2 separate regions of the Homo sapiens genome follow, and region 1 is linked to region 2. The links are contacts of gene promoters, found by promoter capture Hi-C in blood cells and fetal thymus (Javierre and others, 2016). All regions are on one chromosome and are shown on one strand. The core of a region is centred on a gene start or on the middle of the fragment in contact, and the rest is flanking DNA. Distances in the headings are between cores, read along the strand shown.

What was found. The method cuts DNA at HindIII sites, captures the fragments that hold promoters and counts their contacts. A CHiCAGO score of 5 or more calls a contact.
Region 1: a fragment that was not itself captured here is called in contact with the fragment with the promoter of COX6A2 in region 2 in 1 of 17 cell types (M0 macrophages); the score reaches 6.4 in M0 macrophages.

Annotation. Positions count from the first base shown.
Region 1 is chr16:31,268,559-31,273,459 of GRCh38, reverse strand. ITGAM (integrin subunit alpha M) reads right to left here. Exons shown (of 30, transcript NM_000632.4): 6 at 2,376-2,506; 7 at 1,468-1,613; 8 at 1-95. Among named protein-coding and RNA genes, the nearest start is that of ITGAM, 11 kb to the right of the region's middle. RefSeq lists enhancers at 1-127, 1,127-1,652, 1,653-2,178. The HindIII fragment of the contact is 3,863 bases long and covers 1,465-4,901 here.
Region 2 is chr16:31,425,109-31,429,789 of GRCh38, reverse strand. It overlaps COX6A2 (cytochrome c oxidase subunit 6A2), which reads left to right and starts at 1,430. Exons shown (of 3, transcript NM_005205.4): 1 at 1,430-1,537; 2 at 1,639-1,775; 3 at 1,933-2,059. The coding sequence starts at 1,465. The coding sequence ends at 2,016. ITGAD (integrin subunit alpha D) reads right to left here. Exons shown (of 30, transcript NM_005353.3): 30 at 3,285-3,775. The coding sequence ends at 3,662. The HindIII fragment of the contact is 1,386 bases long and covers 670-2,055 here.

The DNA of each region.
Region 1 (4,901 bases), core at 2,147-4,646, 160 kb after region 2:
CCAAGGGATCGCCAAACTTTTCTCCATCCGTGATGACAACTAGGATCTTAAAGGCATTCTTTCGGGCTCCGTTGGTGATGTTAAACAGCTCTCGTCTGTGCAGGAAACAGGAGGGACAAAGTCAAATGCAAGTAGATGACACACTAGTTTTTTTTTTTTTTTAAGAAATAGACACTCACTCTGTTATCCAGGCTGGAGTGCAGAGACACAATCATAGCTCACTGCAGACTTGAACTCCTGGGCTCAAGTGATTCTCCTGCCTCAGCCTCCTGAGTACCTGGGACTACAGGCATGTACCACCACACTTGGTTTATTTTTTTATCTTTTTAGAGATAGAGTCTCACTATGTTGTCAATTGGTCTCAAACTCCTGGCCTCAAGTGATCCTCCCACCTCGGCCTCCTAAAGTGCTGACATTACTGGTATGAGACCCTGCACCTAGCCAGAGATGCTATTAACGTCAGAAAGGAAATGTCAGCAGAGTCCCAGACACAGATACAGCTAGGCGAGGTCTCGGAGGGGCTCCGTCTCCCCTGAGACTTAGCACTGAGATGCAACTGCCCCGAGACCTGGAAAAGCAGCAGGGAAGGGAAAGGAAGCCTTCACGGTTTTTGTTTTTATACTTTCGCATAATTTGGGTTTTTTAACTGAGTATTATTACTTTTGAATTTTAAAAATATATATATTTATGGCTGACACTTGTAATCCCAGCACTATGGGAAGCCAAGTCAGGTGAATCACCTGAGGTCAGGAGTTCAAGACCAGCCTGGTCAACATGGTGAAACCCTGTCTCTACTAAAAATACAAAAATTAGCTGATGGTGGTGATGGACGCATGTAATCCCAGCTACTCAGGAGGCTGAGGCAGGAGAATTGCTTGAACCCAGGAGGTGGAGGTTGCAGTGAGCCGAGATCAGGCCACTGCATTCCAGCCTGGGTGACAGAGTGAGACTCTGTCTCAAAAAAAAAAAAAAAAAAAAAAAAAAAAAAAAAAAAAATATATATATATATATATATATATATATATATATATATATAGTTAATTGGCCTTCAGGAAACCTCTCCCAGAGCACTGCACCAGCTCCCCAGCCCCTCTAGGACTCTCCAGTGCTTCTTGTACTTCTGTCCCAACCCCATCCTTGCCTCTACACCCACCTCAAAATCAGAGTGAACTTCCCAAAATGAGACATGGCGATATCTCACCACAGGCTGTAAAGCTGCCTTTGGCTCCCTGGCCTGAGCTGATCTTTGTAGCTTCCCTCCAGACACCTTTCCCTCACTTCCCCACTCCACTCCCACCTTTCACTCACAACTTGTCCTTTGATGAACACACCACGCACAGCCTCCCCACCTCTGCCGGTGGGGAAGCATCCTCTACCACCCCTGTCTGAACGGCTCCCTTCATCCATCAAAGCCCAGCTAAAAGTGTCTCCTCCTCCCTCCATCCTAAGGGAAAAGGGGAAGCTTACACCACTTTGCGGATGCCCGTGGCCGTGTGTGTCCGCCCAAGCAGCTGCGTTATTGGCTTCACCAGTGATCTTGGGTTAGGGTTGTTCTGGAACTCTTTGAAGGTAAAGTGAATCCGGAATTCTTCAGAGTACTGCATCAAAGAGAACTGCGGAGGGGGCGGCTGGTGTGATGCTGGAGAAGGTGCCCCCACCCCTCAGACATCTCCCAGCAAGCTCCACGAAGATCTTAAACACTCCACTCTCCAAATTCCTCCTCTGTGCTGCCCCTAATCCCCTGCCTCACCAGGACGGAGAGCTGCCAGCAGCTCCCATCTCTCCTCAATACTAGAACACGGCCAGCGGCCGGGAGCAGTGGCTCACACCTGTAATCCCAGCACTTTGGGAAGCCGAGGCGGGTGGATCACCTGAGGTCAGGAGTTTGAGACCAGCCTGGCCAAAATGGTGAAACCCCGTCTCTACTAAAAATACAAAAACTAGCCAGGCATGGTGGCATGCGCCTGTAATCCCCGCTACTCGGGAGGCTGAGGCAAGAGAATTGCTTGAACCCGGGAGGCGGAGGTTGCAGTGAGCCAAGATCACACCACTGCACTCCAGCCTGAGAGAAAGAGTGAGATTCTGTCTCAAAAAAATAAGAAATAAAAATGAAAATAGAACTCAGCCAGCAATGACACGTGGGCTTCATCTCCCATGCCAACCTTAACAATTAGAGCTGCCCGCTTTATAAAAGGCTGAAAGAATGCTGAGGCTGCATCCAACAGAGCAGAAAAGAGACTCAGGAAGGCAAACCATAATCGATCGTCAATTTGGCAATGTCTGCAGTTGAACTGGGAGGAGAACATGGTGGCCCGGTTGCCATGTATCTTCCAGCCCCGTGTGGGCTCTTCCCTAACCTACCCCTGGGCCCTCACCAAGGTTTTGGACTTTTTTAATTGCTCCATCACAGTTGAGACAAACTCCTTCATCCGCCGAAAGTCATGTGGGATGATGCTACCAGAGCCATCAATCAAGAAGGCAATGTCACTATCCTCTTGAGGACACCCTGGGGAAGGGGAAAAGAGTATGAATCAAGTAATTTGACACTTGGTGTTTTGGGTTTTTTTGCATGTCAGCCCTCTGCTGAACAATGAGAATATAGGACCCCGTCTCTATAAAAAATATAGATGTTAAATATATATATAAATTATGTATAATATATATATAATTTTTAACGTGTGTGTATATATATATATGTATACACACGTTAAAAACATATATATATATATATATATATATATATATATATATATATATATACACACACACACGTTAAAAATTAGTCAGGCATGTTGGCACATGCCTGTAGTCCCAGCTACTCAGGAGGCTGAGGGTGGGGGATCACTTCAGCCCAAAAGGTTGAGGCTTCAGTGAGCTATGATCACGCCATTGCACTCCAGCCTGGGCCACAGAGAAAGACCCTGTCTCTTAAAAATAAATAAATAAGTAAATAAACAAGGACAAAGTGGTATGGAAAATTTTCGTTAATTCTGCCCAAGGGAATCAGGGAATGTGGTGATGTTTGACTGAATCTTGAAGAACAGGAAATAATTTGCCCAGCTGGGCGAGGTGGCTCACACCTGTAATCCCAGCACTTTGGGAGGCTGAGGCAGGTGGATCACTTGAGATCAGGAGTTTGAGACCAGCCTGGCTGACATGGTGAAACCCTATCTCTATTAAAAATACAAAAAGTAGCTGAGATCGCACCACTGCACTCCAGCCTGGGTCACAGAGCAAGACTTCGAAGAAAAGGAAGAAAGGAAGAAAAAAAGGAAAGGAAAGGAAAGGAAAGGAAAGGAAAGGAAAGGAAAGGAAAGGAAAGCAAAGGAGGAAGGAAGGAAGGAAGGAAGGAAGGATTTGCCAGATATACAAAAGGAGTAGATTCTAGAAAAGGGAAGGGCACACACATATAAAGTGATGTGGAATGTGCTCCTCTGCCTTCTGCCCCATCCCCAAATCCACTTTCTACCCATTGCCGCTCAGCTCTGTGGCCTGGGAGGTCAACCTGCAGGGACCCCATCACCAGGACTCTGTTGCCCTCTGGATTCCCATTGGATTTGGCAGATGAGGGGGCTCAACAGAAGACTAGAGGGAGGAGGGCAGTGAGGTCCGGGTGTTCTCCCATTGAGGTTGTTTGGGGACAGCTATGTCCTTCACAAAAGACCAACTGTTCCTCAGAAGGAAGCCAGCTCCACATGACTCTCTCCAGACCCTGGTGAGCTCTCCCTCTCCTCAACCCATAAACCCAGGGGTGGCAACAGACCTGCTTGCCCAGGGCTTGGAAAGTCCCTGATGGCTCCCTTAGGCCTGTCACAGCTTTATAATTACTCCCTTTATAAATAAACCCCCCTCTTTGTAAATAAATCTTACTGAAACCGCCTTTGCAAAATTATGACTGAGACAGTGAAAGAGATCTAACTTAACTGATTCCATCTTGCTTCTAACCTCCAAGCTGTCCGTGTTCATTCCTGGGTGTAGGCTGAGCTAACTTTGGGAGACACTTAGTTTATAGTTTATAGTTTATAGTTTAAACAAAGATCGTAACAGCCCTTTCCCAAAGCAGACCTCCTTCTTACCTGGGGACTAGATTGCCTTTGTAGGACTAACGTTAGCCACAAGATGAGAAATTATGATTTAGGAGTCATGCAGCTGGAGGCTACAAGATTCTGACCCTCCCTAAACTGCTCCTAAAATCAGTGCTTGAGATATTTTGCAGACCTTGCACTTGATGGATCAGCTGGCACTGCCCAGATCAATAAACTGGTTCATCCGATCTTGCTGCCCCCACCCAGGAACCAACTGAACGCAAGAAGACAGCTCCGACTCCCGATGATTTCATCCCTGATCAATCAGCACTCCCAGCTCACTGGCTTCCCCCGCGACCTACCAAGTTATCCTCAAAAACTCTGCCCCCAAATGCTCGAGGAGACTGATTCGAGTGATAATAAAACTCTGGTCCCCTGCATAGCTGGCTCTGTGTGAATTATTCTTTCTCTATCGCAATTCTGCTGTCTTGATGAATCGGCTCTGTCTAGGCAGCAAGCAAGGTGAACCCCTTGGGCAGTTACATTACTGGAATGTGCTTTTGGTCCCAGTTGAGACTCCTACTGATATATGGGACAAGGGCCTCAAAAGGATTCTGGCAGAATCCAGGAATGCCGTTTGATGGAAACAGCACTACAGGGACAAACGTATGTGACGGCGATGGAGACACAGCGGTGGCATCAAGCAAAGAGCAGCGGGCAAGGGCCTTTCTACTCCAATAAGGAGCTCGACTTTATCTGTAGGCAATGGGGAGCCACAGAAGGTTCTTAGAAAAGGAAGTGAGATGATTTGTTTTGTATTTTAGAAAGACTGGCAGGGCACAGTGGCTCATGCCTGTAACCCCAGCACTTTGGGAG
Region 2 (4,681 bases), core at 181-2,680:
TCTTGAAAATATATCTTCCTCGTTTTTTTTATATATTAAATTCAGATTATATGTCTATATAATTCATTCTTCTTTTGTATATTAAGTTCATATTAGTACATCAGCCCTTGATCAAAGCTAGAAGCTTCCTATTGGATTGTAATTCTGAAAAGGCATTGTTGTAGGGTTAACCAAAGTAACAAGGTTCAAGCATTCATTACATACATATTTTTAGAACACCTCCTTCATGCCAAGGTCCCTGCCCGTTGCTGAGGACAGAACAGGCAGATGTCATCCCTGCCTGGTCTTGTGGCTTTCTTGTGACCTGCTTTGATAGAGGGTTCACACCAGCCCTGTCTAGGCTTGCTTTCTCCAAGTAGTCATATTTTTCAGATTGAAATAATGCACTTTGCAGTAGACACCTGTCAGGCTTGTGGCTGCCTGGAACCTTTTGAATACTCATCCTAGACCTGGAGATTTTCCCTACAATTCCTGCCTCCCTAAGGCAGAATCCAGAGCTCAGTTTCCCATCCCCTCCTGCAGCTGGGGGACCTAGGGGTTGCCAGTTGGTGCAATCACATAATTCTTTCAGAAAAGAGCGACCCAGGATACAGGTTTCATGAAGAATCTGTTTTCAAGAGGGGATGAGGGTGGAAAATTCTGGTTTTCCAGGGCAGCCTTAATGAAGCTTTTGGCATCCAGGGTCCAGCAGTGTGAGCTGTGGGGGTGTCACTGCAGCTGGCCAACGGAATGACTTGTTTATGACTGTGCAGACTGTAGGCATCTCTGGCTATATCAGACATAGTAAGCTACCTAAGATTCTCAATTACTTATCTTCTAAAACTAGTAAGAGTGAGTTCTGTTCTTTGCAAAGAACTGTGACTAATACATATACTGAACTACTGTTACCTGCCAAAATCCAGGTTGACACATTCCTACCTTACATAAACTTCATAAAAATGATGTAAGGGCCGTGTAGTGGCTCATGCCTGTAATCCCAGCACTGTGGGAGGCTGAGGCGGGAGGATCACGTGAGCTCAAGAGTTCCACACCAGCCTGGACAATATAGTGAGATCCCCGTCTCCAGTATTTAAAAAATCTTTTAAGGTACGAATTATTATACATTTTACAGCTGAAAACACTGAGACTCAAAAAGACACTTAATTCATTCTACAAATATTTATTAAAGCCCAACTGTGTGCCAGCCACCAGGCATAGAATAGGGAACAAAATAGTTTCCCTGCAACTATATAAAAAGAATGGCATATTGTACTTAAATGCCTCCTTGCCAAAATAAGAGGCACAGGACAACAGCTGTCTGGAGATGACCTCAAGCCAGTCAGGCCCCATTTTAAATATAGAAACCCCTAAGAATAGCCGCCAGTGCTCCAGACTCAACAGGTGATTGGCCCAGAGAGGGGAGGTGACCCCAGGCCCCAGGAAAGGGAGCGAGGACAGCGCTGGTTCCCGGCTCCCCGCACCATCATGGCTTTGCCTCTGAGGCCCCTGACCCGGGGCTTGGCCAGCGCTGCCAAAGGAGGCCACGGAGGAGCAGGAGGTGAGTGGGGAACGGGCGGATCCGGGGGCTCCCCTACCCTGCCCACCTGTTCACAGGCCCGCCGCCCCAGGACCGCCGCGCTCACCCCGCTCCGTCCGCAGCTCGTACCTGGCGTCTGCTGACCTTCGTGCTGGCGCTGCCCAGCGTGGCCCTCTGCACCTTCAACTCCTATCTCCACTCGGGCCACCGCCCGCGCCCCGAGTTCCGTCCCTACCAACACCTCCGCATCCGCACCAAGGTACGCGGGACGGGCGCGCGGGCGGCACGGGGGTGCTGCGGGGGCGGGGGGGGGTGCTGCGGGGGCGGGGGGGGGTGCTGCGGGGGGGGGGTCGCGCGGGGCGCGGACTCCGGACTCACGGCGCTCACGCGCGCTCCCTCCCCCGCTCTCTCCACAGCCCTACCCCTGGGGGGACGGCAACCACACTCTGTTCCACAATAGCCACGTGAACCCTCTGCCCACGGGCTACGAACACCCCTGAGGCCCCGGACGCCCCCGGACACAATAAAGGTGTGAAGCTTCGAGTCTGCGGCTCTGTGGGGAGGGCGGGGCCACGGGGAGCGCGCCCAGAGGCGCCCGCTCCGCGCATGCGCCCAGCTTGGTAAGCGCTCCTGCTCCGCGCATGCGCCTAGCGCGGTGGGCGCTCCACGTGCTTTTCCCACGCCGCTGATACGGAGGTGCTCGAGGGAGCCTCCTCCACTCACAGGTAGGCGATCCCAGCTCCCTGTCTCTCACCTGGTAATAATGAGGCCTCCCTCTCACACACACCTATTAATAATTAGGGCTCTAGGCTGTAATGGGCTTCCGCGTACACCGAATCCTCACAGTAACGCTGGGAGCAGGGTATAAATTTAGTTCACCTTCTCCCGAGGAAGACCTGAGATTCTTGGGAATTAAATGACTTGTCCAAGTTCCGGCAGCTCGGCAGAGCCCCCATGGGAGCCCAGGGCTGCAGATCCTGAAGTCCCACTTCTTGCCTGACACCTGAGCTGCTGGTGTCTGTGAATCCCAGCTCTCTGGATTTCAGACGGAGGCTCCACAGTCCTGTGTGTGAGGCCTTGGGACCTAATGCTGGATTTGGAATCTTTTGATAATTCTCTATAATCTTTCTTTCTTTTTTTTTTTTTTTTTTTGAGACGGAGTCTCGCTCTGTCGCCCAGGCCGGACTGCGGACTGCAGTGGTGCAATCTCGGCTCACTGCAAGCTCCGCTTCCCGGGTTCACGCCATTCTCCTGCCTCAGCCTCCTGAGTAGCTGGGACTACAGGCGCCCGCCACCGCGCCCGGCTAATTTTTTGTATTTTTAGTAGAGACGGGGTTTCACCTTGTTAGCCAGGATGGTCTCGATCTCCTGACCTCATGATCCACCCGCCTCGGCCTCCCAAAGTGCTGGGATTACAGGCGTGAGCCACCGCGCCCGGCCTATAATCTTTCTTAATGAGTCTTCTATATGGGAAATCACATGCTCCTAGCCTGGCTCTCCTGGCTTCTGAGTACCTCATTCAAGGGGGACAGGAGTTCAAATGAGCTCTGGACATTTCTTCACCTCCTAGGACAGCCTGCCCACTTACCATTACAGAGGAACCTGAAGTGTGTGAAGAAACCCATGACCAATGCATGCCTGCGTGCACGTGCATGCACATGCACACACACACACACACACACACACACACACACTCTTTGACCCTCTCCCCTGATACACACCTCTCAGCCCCATCAAGAAAAGATGACCTCAGGCTCCCATCACCATAGAAAGTGAAAAAACTTTTTCAATGCCCACAAATAGGTTCCCCCGACTATTCCCAGAGAGGCACTCAGGTCCCTGGGTTATAGCTCTTCCACGCAAGGAAAGTGTGCTATAAACATCCTCATTTCATGTGACAATTCTTAAGCATATGAAAATTTATGCTGGCACCATGCCTGCTTCTGTAAAAAGTGGGTCATTGCTGAAAAAGATGGACAGATATGTAAAAACATTACAATCTCTATCTCTCCGAGAAGGTGCTTAGCACCTGGTAGGTTGCTTAGGCCAGTGCAGATCTATGCAGAAGTTGTTTCCATGTAAGTTGATTTATGGTTGCAAGCAAGTCCAGCCCACAGTGGTAGAGATAAACAGGAAAGTGGATTATTAGGACAAAGGCACATTTGGGGCCACACAGCTGAAATCGTCCCCACTGAATGTGGCAGTGTCTTCAGGCTTGTCCTCCAGCATTTCCTTGTAGTGGCGTTTGAAGAAGCCAAGCTATCAGGGGAAATAAATTAGAAAAGCTGGGTAAGTCCGGGCCCGGTGGCTCACACCTGTAATCTCAGCACTGTGGGAAGCTGAGGAGGGTGGATCACCTGAGGTCAGGAGCTGGAGACCAGCCTGGCCAACATGGTGAAACCCCGTCTCTACTAAAAATACAAAAATTAGCTGGGTGTGGTGGTGCGCCTGTAATCCCAGCTACTCAGGAGGCTGAGGCAAGAGAATCGCTTGAACCCGGGAGGCAGAGGTTGCCGTGAGCCAAGATCATGCCACTGCACTCCAGCCTGGGCAAGACAGCAAGACTCCATGTAAAAAAAAAAAAGAAGAAGAAGAAAAAGAAAAGAGAAAGAAAAGAAAGAAAAGCTGGGTAAGAGGGCAGGGAAGAAAATTGGGAATAAGAGGAAGCTGAGAGAGAAGAGGAGGCAACAACTAAGCTAACTTACGTTTGTGTGCGAGAACATTTATGTGAACAGCTATCATATATCGAGCATCTGCTGGCCCCGAGCACAGTAGGTACACACACGACCCGTGGCAGGACAGCATAGATCCAGGCAGATCTGTGCACATGCCCTGGCCTCATTTCTCTCTCACTTCAGCCACTCTGTGATATAAGCATTATTATCATTTCAAAAATGAGAAACGGCCGGGCACAGTGGCTCATGCCTGTAAACCCAGCAGTTTGGGAGGCCGAGGTGGGCGGATCACATGAGGTCAGGAGTTTGAGACCAATCTGACCAACATGGTGAAACCTCTCTCTACTAAAAATACAAAAAATAGCCAGGTGTGGTGGTGTGTGCCTGTAGTCCTAGCTACTTGGGAAGCTGAGGCATGAGAATCTTTTGAACCTAGGAGGTGGAGGTTGCAGTGAGCTGAGATTGTGCCACTGCACCCCAGCCTAGGCAA